Linked DNA regions of Homo sapiens: region 1 is linked to region 2. The links are contacts of gene promoters, found by promoter capture Hi-C in human tissues and cell types (Jung and others, 2019). All regions are on one chromosome and are shown on one strand. Each heading gives the region's core, a stretch centred on a gene start or on the middle of the fragment in contact. The rest is flanking DNA. Distances are from core to core; before and after follow the strand shown. Region 1 has its middle 8.5 kb from the start of PPP1CC. Region 2 holds the start of MYO1H (myosin IH).

Region 1 (5,314 bases), core at 2,058-4,557, 1.4 Mb before region 2:
GATAATACAAACACTGGAAATAACCCAAATGCCTGCCAACAGGTGAATGGATGGACATATTCTTTTTGTTGTTGTTGTTGTTGTTTGAGACAGGGTCTCAGTTGCCCACGCTGGAGTGCAGTGGCACAATCACAGCTCACTGCAGCCTCCACATCCTGGGCTCAAGGCCTCCTGCCTCAGCCTCCTGAGTAGTTAGGACTACAGGTGTGGGCCACTACTTTTAGCCAAATTTTTTTTTTTTTTTTTTTTTTTTTAGAGACAGGGTTTCACTATGTTGCCGGGCTCCAAATAGGTGTCTTTTTTTAGATTCTCCTGCCTCAGCCTCCCGAATAGTTGGGATTACAGGCGCCCACCATGCCCAGCTAATTTTTGTCTTTTTAGCAGAGACAGGGTTTCACCATATTGGCCAGGCTGGTCTCAAACTCCTGACCTCAAGTGATCTGCCCACCTTGGCCTCTCAAAGTGCTGGGATTACAGGCGTGAGCCACCGTGCCTGGTCCATATTATTTTTTTAAAAAATAGGGATGGAATCTCACTATTGTGACCAGCCTGTCTCAAATTCCTGGCCTCAAGCCATTCTCCCATCTCGGCCTCCCAAAGTGCTGGGATTACAAGTATGAGCCACCGTGCCCAGCCTAAAATCTTTTTTTTTCCTTTCTTTTTTTTTTGAGACAGAGTCTAGCTTTGTCACCTACGCTGGAGTGCAGTGGCCAGGATCTTGGCTCACCACAACCTCTGTCTCCCAGGTTCCAGCAATTCTCCTGCCTCAGCTTCCTGAGTAGCTGGGATTACAGGTGTGTGCCAGCTAATTTTTTGTATTTTTCATAGAGACAGTTTTCACCATGTTGGCCAGGCTGGTATCAAACTCCTGACCTCAAATGATCTGCCTGCCTTGGCCTCCCAAAATGCTGGGGTTACAGGCATGAGCCACCATGCCCCGCCTAAAATATCTTTCTTAAAGCACATTGCGGCCCCCAAAAAGTTTGAAAACCCTGCCCTAAATATGTGACATTGTTTTCCCATTTTAAACTTTTATGTAAGTAGCATCATCCAGCCCAAATGCTTCCCCCAGCTGGCTTTTGCTTCATTGATATTAGCTTTGAGATGAATCCATGTTGATACACGTAGCTCAGTTTCCTTCCTTTCCATCACCGCCTAAACATGCTGCAAGTTATTTCTCCGTCATCCTATGATTGGATTTTTTTTTTTTTTTTTTTTTTTTTTGCCAAATGGGACATTTAAAAAATAGCTATCTCTCACTATTACCACCTTTCTTACTTGGAAGGACATTTTAATATAAATAAAGTCAGAATGTCCTGCTCTCAGAAGCAAAGCCGGTCTTTTAAACGAAATAAATCTGGCTTTATGAAAACTCATTCCACCTGCCCCTGAGGGTTAAGGCTGTTGGTTTTCTTCCTTGTTGACTGTTAGTTTGTTTATTAGATGTTGTAACCTAGTGAAAACATAGTCACCTACACAACAATATTAGGCTGCCTGGTGCTACCTCTGGGGAAGGAAAGGGGAAGCGAATAGGATGGAGATGGGATTCAAAGAGAGTAGACTGGGCATGGTGGCTCACGCCTGTAATCCCAGCACTTTGGGAGGCCAAGGTGGGTGGATTACTTGAGGTCAGGAGTTTAAGACCAGCCTGACCAACATGGCGAAACCCAGTCTCTACTAAAAATACAAAAATTAGCCAGGTGTGGTGGGCACCTGTAATCCCAACTACTTGGGCGGCTGAGGCAGGAGAATCGCTTGAACCTGGGAGGTGGAGGTTACAGTGAGCCAAGATCGCACCATTGCACTACAGCCTGGGCGACAGAGCAAGACTCCGTCTCAAAAAAAAAAAAAAAAAAAAAAGTGTCAACCATAATACTTCATTTCCTTTCTTACCTAAAAAAAAAATAAAGAAAAAAAACTAAGTCAAATATGGCCAAATGTTAACATTTGGAATCTCTGGAGTGTGAAGAGGGGTATCTATATGCAAGTACTTTAAGCTTTAAATAGTTCATTGCATTTTTTTCATTACCAATCTATACTTCGCTCCAAGTTCTAAATAGTTCATTACAATGTTTTTTTCTTTTTCTTTTTTTTTTTTTTTTGAGATGGAGTCTCACTCTGTCACCCAGGCTGGAGTGCAGTGGTGCTGTCTCAGCTCACTGCAGCCTCCACCTCTCAGGTTCAAGTGATTCTCCTGCCTCAGCCTTCTGAGTAGCTGGGACTACAGGCGTCCACCACCACACCCAGCTAATTTTTGTATTTCTAGTAGAGATGGGGTTTCACCATGTTGGCCAGGCTGGTTTCGAACTCCTGACCTCAGGGATCCACCTGCCTTGGACTCCCAAAGCGCTGCGATTACAGGCGTGAGCCACCGTGCCCAGCCAAAACATGTTTTTTAAGGAATGGGGTCTCACTACATTGTTCAGGCTAGTCTCAAACTCCTGGGCTTGAAGCAATCCTCTCACCTTGGCCTCCCAAAATGCTGGAATTACAGGTGTGAGCCACCACACTGGCCAGAAGACATCTTTTATTGTCATGATTGGAGAAGAGGGGCATGCTACTTGTATCTGGTGGGTAGAAATCAGGGATGCCGCTAAACACCATGTAGTACACAGGACAGAACCCGCTCGACAGAGAACGATCTAGCCCAAAACGTCAATAGCGCCCAGGTCAACAATCCCTGCTCTAAAGTGAGCCTCCCTTTGCCAGACTTTGTTCCAAATGGCAGTGCGATCCACCCTCCAGATGCTGGGATAGCTTGTTTCTTTCCCGACCACAGAGTGAGTCATTTTGTGATGCTAAGGAACATTTAGCAAGGCGATAATCATCCTAGTTTCACTGTTGGATAATTCCAGATGAAAGTGTATTTGGGGCCTTCTCAAAGAAAGACACACCCAACGACAATGAAGGCTCTGTGAAGGCCAAGGCTGGTGCAAGAGGTTTTGAACAGCCCATCTAAATCCCCCTGCTCCAAGAAGGCTCCTGGGAACATCCCAAAGAATCTGCTCTCCCTGATCCCTAAGAACATAACTTCTGTGTTTGGAGGAAGAAGTGTGACATCAGATTCCCTGGGTTTAAATCCTGGCTCTGGCCCTCCCCAGCTGGGTTATAAATTATTTCCCTTGGCGAAACCTAACTCCTAAAATAGTGTGAAGATTAAAATGAGCATGCATGCAGGGCGCAATGGCTCAAGCCTGTAATCCCAGCACTTTGGGAGGCTGAGACAGGAGGATCGCTTGAGCCCAGGAGTTCAACATCAGCCTGGGCAACATAGCGAGACCCTATCTCTACAAAAAAAAAAAAAAATCAGAAAAATTAGGGCAGGCATGGTGGCTCATGCCTGTAATCCCAGAATTTTGGGAGGCCGAGGCAGGTGGATCACCTGAGGTCAGGAGTTCAAGACCAGCCTACAAAAATATTAGCCAGGTGTGGTGGTGCATGCTTGTCCTCCCAGCTACTCTATACTCTGGAGGGTGAGGCAGGAGAATCGCTTGAACCCAGGAGGCAGAGGTTGCAGTGAACGGAGATCATGCCACTGCATTCTACCCTGGGTGACAGAGTAAGACTTCGTTTCAAAAATAAAATAAAATGAGCATGCATGAAAGGCCATGAGCATAGAGATTGGCACACAGAAAACACTCAATAAATGCCAGCTATTATCACTGTTATTGTCATCATTATTCCTGTTAGCACCCTAAGTACATTGGAAGATACATTCTCACGATCACATTCTGAGATGGGTAATAATGTCCCCATTTTGCAGATTAGAAAACTAAGACTAATCAGTAAAGCCACCATATATATATAATATATGTATACACACACACACACACGCACACACATATATACATTTACAAGTATAAATATATATACATTTACAAGTATAAATATATACATTTACAAGTATAAATATATATACATTTACAAGTATAAATATATATACATTTATAAGTATAAATATATATACATTTATAAGTATATATACGTTTATAAATATAAATATATATACATTTATAAACATAAATACATATATTTATATATATAAATATATAAAATGGACATTTACTTTATACATGTGTATACTTTATATTTTATACATATATACATATATGTATATATGTGTATACATACATACAGATGTGTGTGTATGTGTATACATACAGATGTGTGTATATGTGTATATATGTACATATATATGTATGTATGTGTATATATACACATATATACACATACATATATACATGTGTGTATATATATATATACACACACACACATATATATATTACACAATTTCACTCTGTCACCCAGGCTGGAGTGCAGTGCTGAAATCTTGGCTCACTGCAACCTCCGTCTCCTGAGTTCAAGAGATTCTCCTGCCTCAGCCTCTGGAGTAGCTGGGATTACAGGCACCCACCACCATGCCCGCCTAATTTTTGTATTAGATGTAGAGATGAGTTTCGCCATGTTGGCCAGGCTGGCCTCGAACTCCTGACCTCAAGTGATCCGCCTGCATCAGCCTCCCAAAGTGCTGGGATTACAGGCATGAGCCACCGCTCCCGGCTAAAGCCACATTTTTCAACAGCCTGCTCTCTAGTCTCATAGCTTCCTCTCCTTCTCACCTACAGTCCATTCTCCTCACGGAAACCAAAGAAATCTTTTAAAAATGTAGGCTGTGCGCGGTGGTTCACGCCTGTAATCCCAGCACTTTGGGAGGCCGAGGTGGGAGGATCACCTGAGGTCAGGAGTTCGAGACCAGCCAGGCCAACATTAGCCAGGCATGATGGCAGGTGCCTGTAATCCCAGCTGCTCGGGAGGCTGAGGTGGGAGAATCGCTTGAACCCGGGAGGTGGAGGTTGCAGTGAGCCGAGATCATGCCATTGCACTTCAGCCTGGGTGACAGAGTAAGACTCTGTCTCAAAAAAAAAAAAAATGCAATCAGAGCTAAGCATGGAGGTGTGCACCTATAGTCCCAGTTACTTGGGTAGGAAGTAACTGTCCAGGAGTTCGTGTCCAGCCTGGGCACCATAGTAAAACCTGATCTTGGCCAGGCTCGGTGGTTCACACCTATAATCCTAGCACTTTGGGAGGCCAAGGTGGGTGGATCACTTGAGGTCAGGAGTTCGAGACCAGCCTGATCAACATGTAGAAGCCCCGTCTCTACTAAAAATACAAAATTTGCTGTGCGTGGTGGCACATGCCTGTAATCCCAGCTACTTGGGAGGCTGAGGCAGGAGAATCGCTTGAACCTGGGAGGCGGAGGTTGCAGTGAGATGAGATCGCGCCATTGCACTCCAGCCTGGACGACAAGAGCGAA
Region 2 (4,933 bases), core at 529-3,028:
CTTTTTTTTTTTTTTTTTTGAGACAGGGTTTCAGACTGTCATCCAGGCTGAGTGCATGGCATGATCACAGTTCACTGCAGCCTTGATCACCCTAGCTCAAGTGATCCTCCCACTTTAGCCTCTGGAGTAGCTGGGACCACAGGCATGTGCCACCATATCTAGCTACTTTTTAATTTTTTTGGTGGGGGGGTCACACTATGTTGCTCATGCTGGTCTCAAGCTCCTAGTCTCAAGGGATCCTCCCACCTTGGCCTTCCAAAGTGCTAGGATTATAGGCACAAGCCACCATGCCCAGCCCAGTTTGTTCTTTTTTAATCTGGAGTAAACTCTATCCAAATAATGTTTTACCAAAGGAATCTGGGAATTAATTCATAAGAAGGAAGAGCTTCCTCCATTTTTCAAAAAAGTGTAACTATGTATAAGTCAATCTGCATGGTTACTTCTACGTGCATTTTGTAAAGCCATGACAATTTAAAAAAAGGCACATGCGACCTTGAGGACAGACCTATCTGTTGTCTTTCACTGCAAGACCTACAGCAAATACTCCTCTCTGTCCATCAACTAAATTATTTTCTCCCAATGAATCATGCTTCCTAGAGTTACCACTTTGAGATATCATGCAAGAATGGCATCTAAAACCAGGACTTTGTTATGGGCATTCAGATACATTTTCGGTCAAGGACAGTGCCATTTTGAGTTACCAGTTGCCAAGGTGACAGTATTCAGTGCTATAGAAATGGGTAATTGACTGAATGGATCAATGACAAGCTGTAGCTAGGGTTTCTTCATGGTGCCTGAGGCTTCTGTGAACAGCTACGAAATTATTCTAACTACATCCATAAATGTTTCTGTAAGCTTTTTGGCTGTCTAGGCAAGAAAAGAAACAATCCTTCAGCAGATAATGTTTTCTAAACAGAGAACACATGAGATGATTATGCTATCGAAACCCAGAAAACCTGTCCTTGGAAGTCTTTATGCTTAGAATTAACTCCTGGAAAGAGGCAATAGGTTTGACACTCAAGTTCTGTCTTCCATCTTCCCAGGAGAGCTTTACCATTGTCTACCTGATAATAAAAACAGCTGTCTTAGCTTCTTAAAATGATCATTACCTGGGACAAGTTGGGCTTATCGCATTTAAAAGGAAACACAAGGTATCTAGGGTAATGAAGAAAATGTACCAATAGTCTTACATGTAAGGCCAATTATTACCTACAATTTCCTTCAACATGAGGTCACCATCTATTATTTAAGACCCAACCATGCTAACACAGTAGCCACTAGCCACATGTGGCTATTTAAATTAATGAAAATTCAGTCAAATTTACAATTCAGTTCCCCAGGAACCAGCCACAGTTTAACCACTCAGTAGTCACACATAGCCAAGAGCTCTTGCATTAGGCAGTGCTAACAGAGACCATTTCTGTCTTTATTGCACAGCACGCTGTTCTAGACCAATGTGAAATGAATCGGTAACTCTCCCATGCTTTGGTTCTAAATCATCGTACTTGCCCCCAGCAACAGAAGGGAGATATCTACATGATCATCTTAACATAGAATTTTTCATCAAATAAATTCAGAATCTTATTCACACGCCCAGTTCTCTCTCCAGGCCTAGCAGAGGCCCAGCATTATAGCCATTTGGAAAGTTCTTGGTAGAAAAGAGGTCACCAGGTGTAACCACCTTCTAGTGTTCAAGTCACATTACCTTGGATTCCATCACGCACAGAGGGAGAGCAGGTTGTTAACAACTATTCCTCTTGAGCCATTCAAAAGTTGCTTCCCACTGACTTATGATTCTGTGATGCCTGACATCCAGCAACAAGGTATGAGGCGATTCTAGCTTGCGGGGTGGAGCTAAGTTAATAATTTACGGTGGGAGGCAGAAACTGCATCTTATGGCCGTCTACATGTAGGCACACCGGGCTGCTCCAGGGAGATAAGAACTGGAAACCCAACCTCCCTTGAGTTTACGTTACAGACACTGCTGATCTTTGATTAGTTGCTTATGTTCCTGACCAGTCACTGACTATTGAAATAATGGCAGGACCCTCGGTGAGCTATGCTTAAAAAAAAAGAAAAAAAGAAAAAAAAAAGAAAAGAAAATTCTCCCAATCTCTTAGCCTAGGATCCAGCTCCAGGGAACTCCTGCTGGAAGTACCTGTTGGCTCTGTTTGAAAAACTTTACAGCCTTAAATTTCATGGAATCAAGTTGATTGGGTAACTTCAAGGTTTCATAATACGGAGACTCAGGACTTTACTTTCATTTTATTATTATTTTCAGATGCTGAAGTGATGCAGGGGCACTATCATCTCATAAAAAATCACAAGGTTGCTGATATTGGAGGCTGTTCAGTTACAGATGGGTTTACCATGAAGCTCAGAGTTCACCCCTTCCTGGTCTGGGCCTCATCGTATAAAGTTCTATTCTTGTTCTTTCAGACAACCCCACCCATCACCCACCACATTGTATGCCTTGGGCCCCCAAACTTGAGCCTGCTGCTGCAACAGGATCATGGCTAAGGGTATGGACAGTGGATTCAGTGCTGGGTTCATTCGAACCTAAACAGCACCCCCTGTTGGATGGAGGACTGTGGGTCCAGCGACTGACCTCAGGATTTCATTTATTAATCCCATTTCATGTATCTCTCTCTCTGTATATATATCCTATTGGAGAACCCCTAACACAAGCCCTGACAAGAGCAGAAATATGCTAATAATTCTTTGGACACTCTAATTTTTGATCAATTGACTTTTTTAAAGAAATGATTCCATTTTTGTAACTGAATAGGTAATATAACATATCCTTGATTTGGTTACAAAGGGACAACCAGAAATAGTATACTAAAAATGTTTTTTAAAAATATATAATTTTATAGACATATATTTTAGTTTTTAAATATAATTTATTTTTTTCTTGAGATGGAGCCTTGCTCTGTTGCCCAGGCTGGAGCACAATGGCAGGATCTCAGTTCACTGCAACCTCCGCCCCCCAGGTTCAAGTGATTCTCCTGCCTCAGCCTCCTGAGTAGCTGGGATTACAAGGCACCCGCCACAACGCCCAGCTAACTTTTGTATTTTTAGTAGAGATAAGGTTTCACCATGTTGACCAGGCTGGTCTCGAACTCCTGACTTCAAGTGATCCACCTGCCTCAGCCTCCCAAAGTGCTGGAATTACAGGTGTGGGCCATCGCGCCTGGCCTATATGATTCTTCATACATTTTTGCATATCTGAAATATATTTTTAATTGAAATATAAATCACGTATAACATTCACTTATTTATACAGTTCATTGTTTTTTAAGTACAGTTGTACCTCAGTATCTGTGGGGGATTGGTTCCAGGACCTTCAAAAATCCATGGATGCTCAATTGCCTGATATAAAATGGCATAGTATTTGCATATAACCTATGCACATCCTCCTGTACACTTTAAATCATTGTCAGATTACTTATAATACCTAGTAGAATGTAAATGCCATGTAAATAGTTGTTATACTACATTGTCTAGGCAACAATGACAAAAAAGTGTCTGTACATCTTCATACAGATGAAAATTTTTCCCTGAATACTTTTGATCCAAGGTTGGTTGAATTCATGGAATTGGAACCCATAAATATGGAGGGACTATTATAGATTCACAATGTTGTGCAATCATCATCACTATTTAATTCAAGAACATTTTCATGACCCCCAAAAGAAATCCTATATCCATTATCTATGATCTCCCTTTTCCCCACCCTAGCACCTTGAAACCACTAATCTGCTGTCTCTATACATTTGGCCTATCATGGACATTTCATATGAACACAGTCATACAATATGTGACCTTTCATGACTGGCTTCTTTCACTTAGCATTGTGTCTTCAAGTTTCATCCATGTTTTAGCATGAACCAGTACACTTCATTTTTATTGCCACATAATGCCTCTGGTATGGATATACCACATTTTGTTTATCCATCAGTTGATGCACATTTGGGTTTTTTCCACTTTTTGGCTATTGCAAATAATGCTATCAACATTCAGGTGCAAATTTTTGTGTGGACTTGTTTTCATTTCTCTTGGGTATATACCTAGGAGTGGAATTGCTGGGTTACGTGTTAACTCTATGTTTAACTTTTTAAGGACCTGCCAAACTGTTTTCTAAACTGGCCACATCATTTTACATTCCCACCAAGAATGTATGAGGTTTCCATTTTCTCCGAATTCTTGCCAACACCTGTTATTGTTGTTCACCTTTTTTATTCTAGCCAAGCTAGTTGATGTGCAGTGGTATCTCATTGTGGTTTTGATTTACATTTCACTGATGACTAACGATGCTAAGCATCTTTTCATGTGTATTTGCCATTTCTATACCTTTTTTGGAGAACTGTCTATGCAAATCCTTCGCCCATTTTCAAGATGGGTTCTTTGTCTTTTTGTTGTTGAGTTGTAGAAGCTCCTTATATATTCTGGATACTAGAACTTTATCTGACACTGTATATGATTTGCAAATATTTTCTCATTCTGTAGGTTGTCTTTTCACTTTCTTGATAGTATCCTTTGAAACACAAAAGACTTAAACTTTGATGAAGCCTAATTTATCTATTTTTTTACCTTTGGTTTCTTGTGTTTTAAGTATAATGTCTAAGAAACCATTGCATAATTCAAGGTCACAAAGATGTACACCTGTGTTTTCTTCTAATAGTTTTATAGTTAATTCATTTTGAGTAAGTTTTTGTGTATTATGTGAAGGAGACATCTAACTTTATAACATTGCATGTGGCATGTCGCTCCAGCATCATTTGTTGAAAAATTATTCTTTCCCCCATTGAGTCATCTTGGCTCCCTTGTCGAAAATCAATTGACCATAAACATAGTAGTTTACACCTGAACTTTTAATTCTATTCCATTGATCTACATGTCTGTCTTTATGGCCGTACCTCACAGTCTTTGT

What was found. The method cuts DNA at HindIII sites, captures the fragments that hold promoters and counts their contacts. A contact is called where the count stands out against the background at its distance.
Region 1: a contact is called between a fragment that was not itself captured here and the fragment with the promoter of MYO1H in region 2, in 1 of the 25 tissues and cell types used here (H1 embryonic stem cells).

The regions. Positions count from the first base shown.
Region 1 is chr12:110,748,762-110,754,075 of GRCh38, reverse strand. No RefSeq gene overlaps it. Among named protein-coding and RNA genes, the nearest start is that of PPP1CC, 8.5 kb to the right of the region's middle. The HindIII fragment of the contact is 5,871 bases long and covers 372-5,314 here.
Region 2 is chr12:109,344,745-109,349,677 of GRCh38, reverse strand. MYO1H (myosin IH) reads right to left here and starts at 1,778. Exons shown (of 32, transcript NM_001101421.4): 1 at 1,706-1,778. The coding sequence starts at 1,717. The HindIII fragment of the contact is 9,124 bases long and covers 1-4,933 here.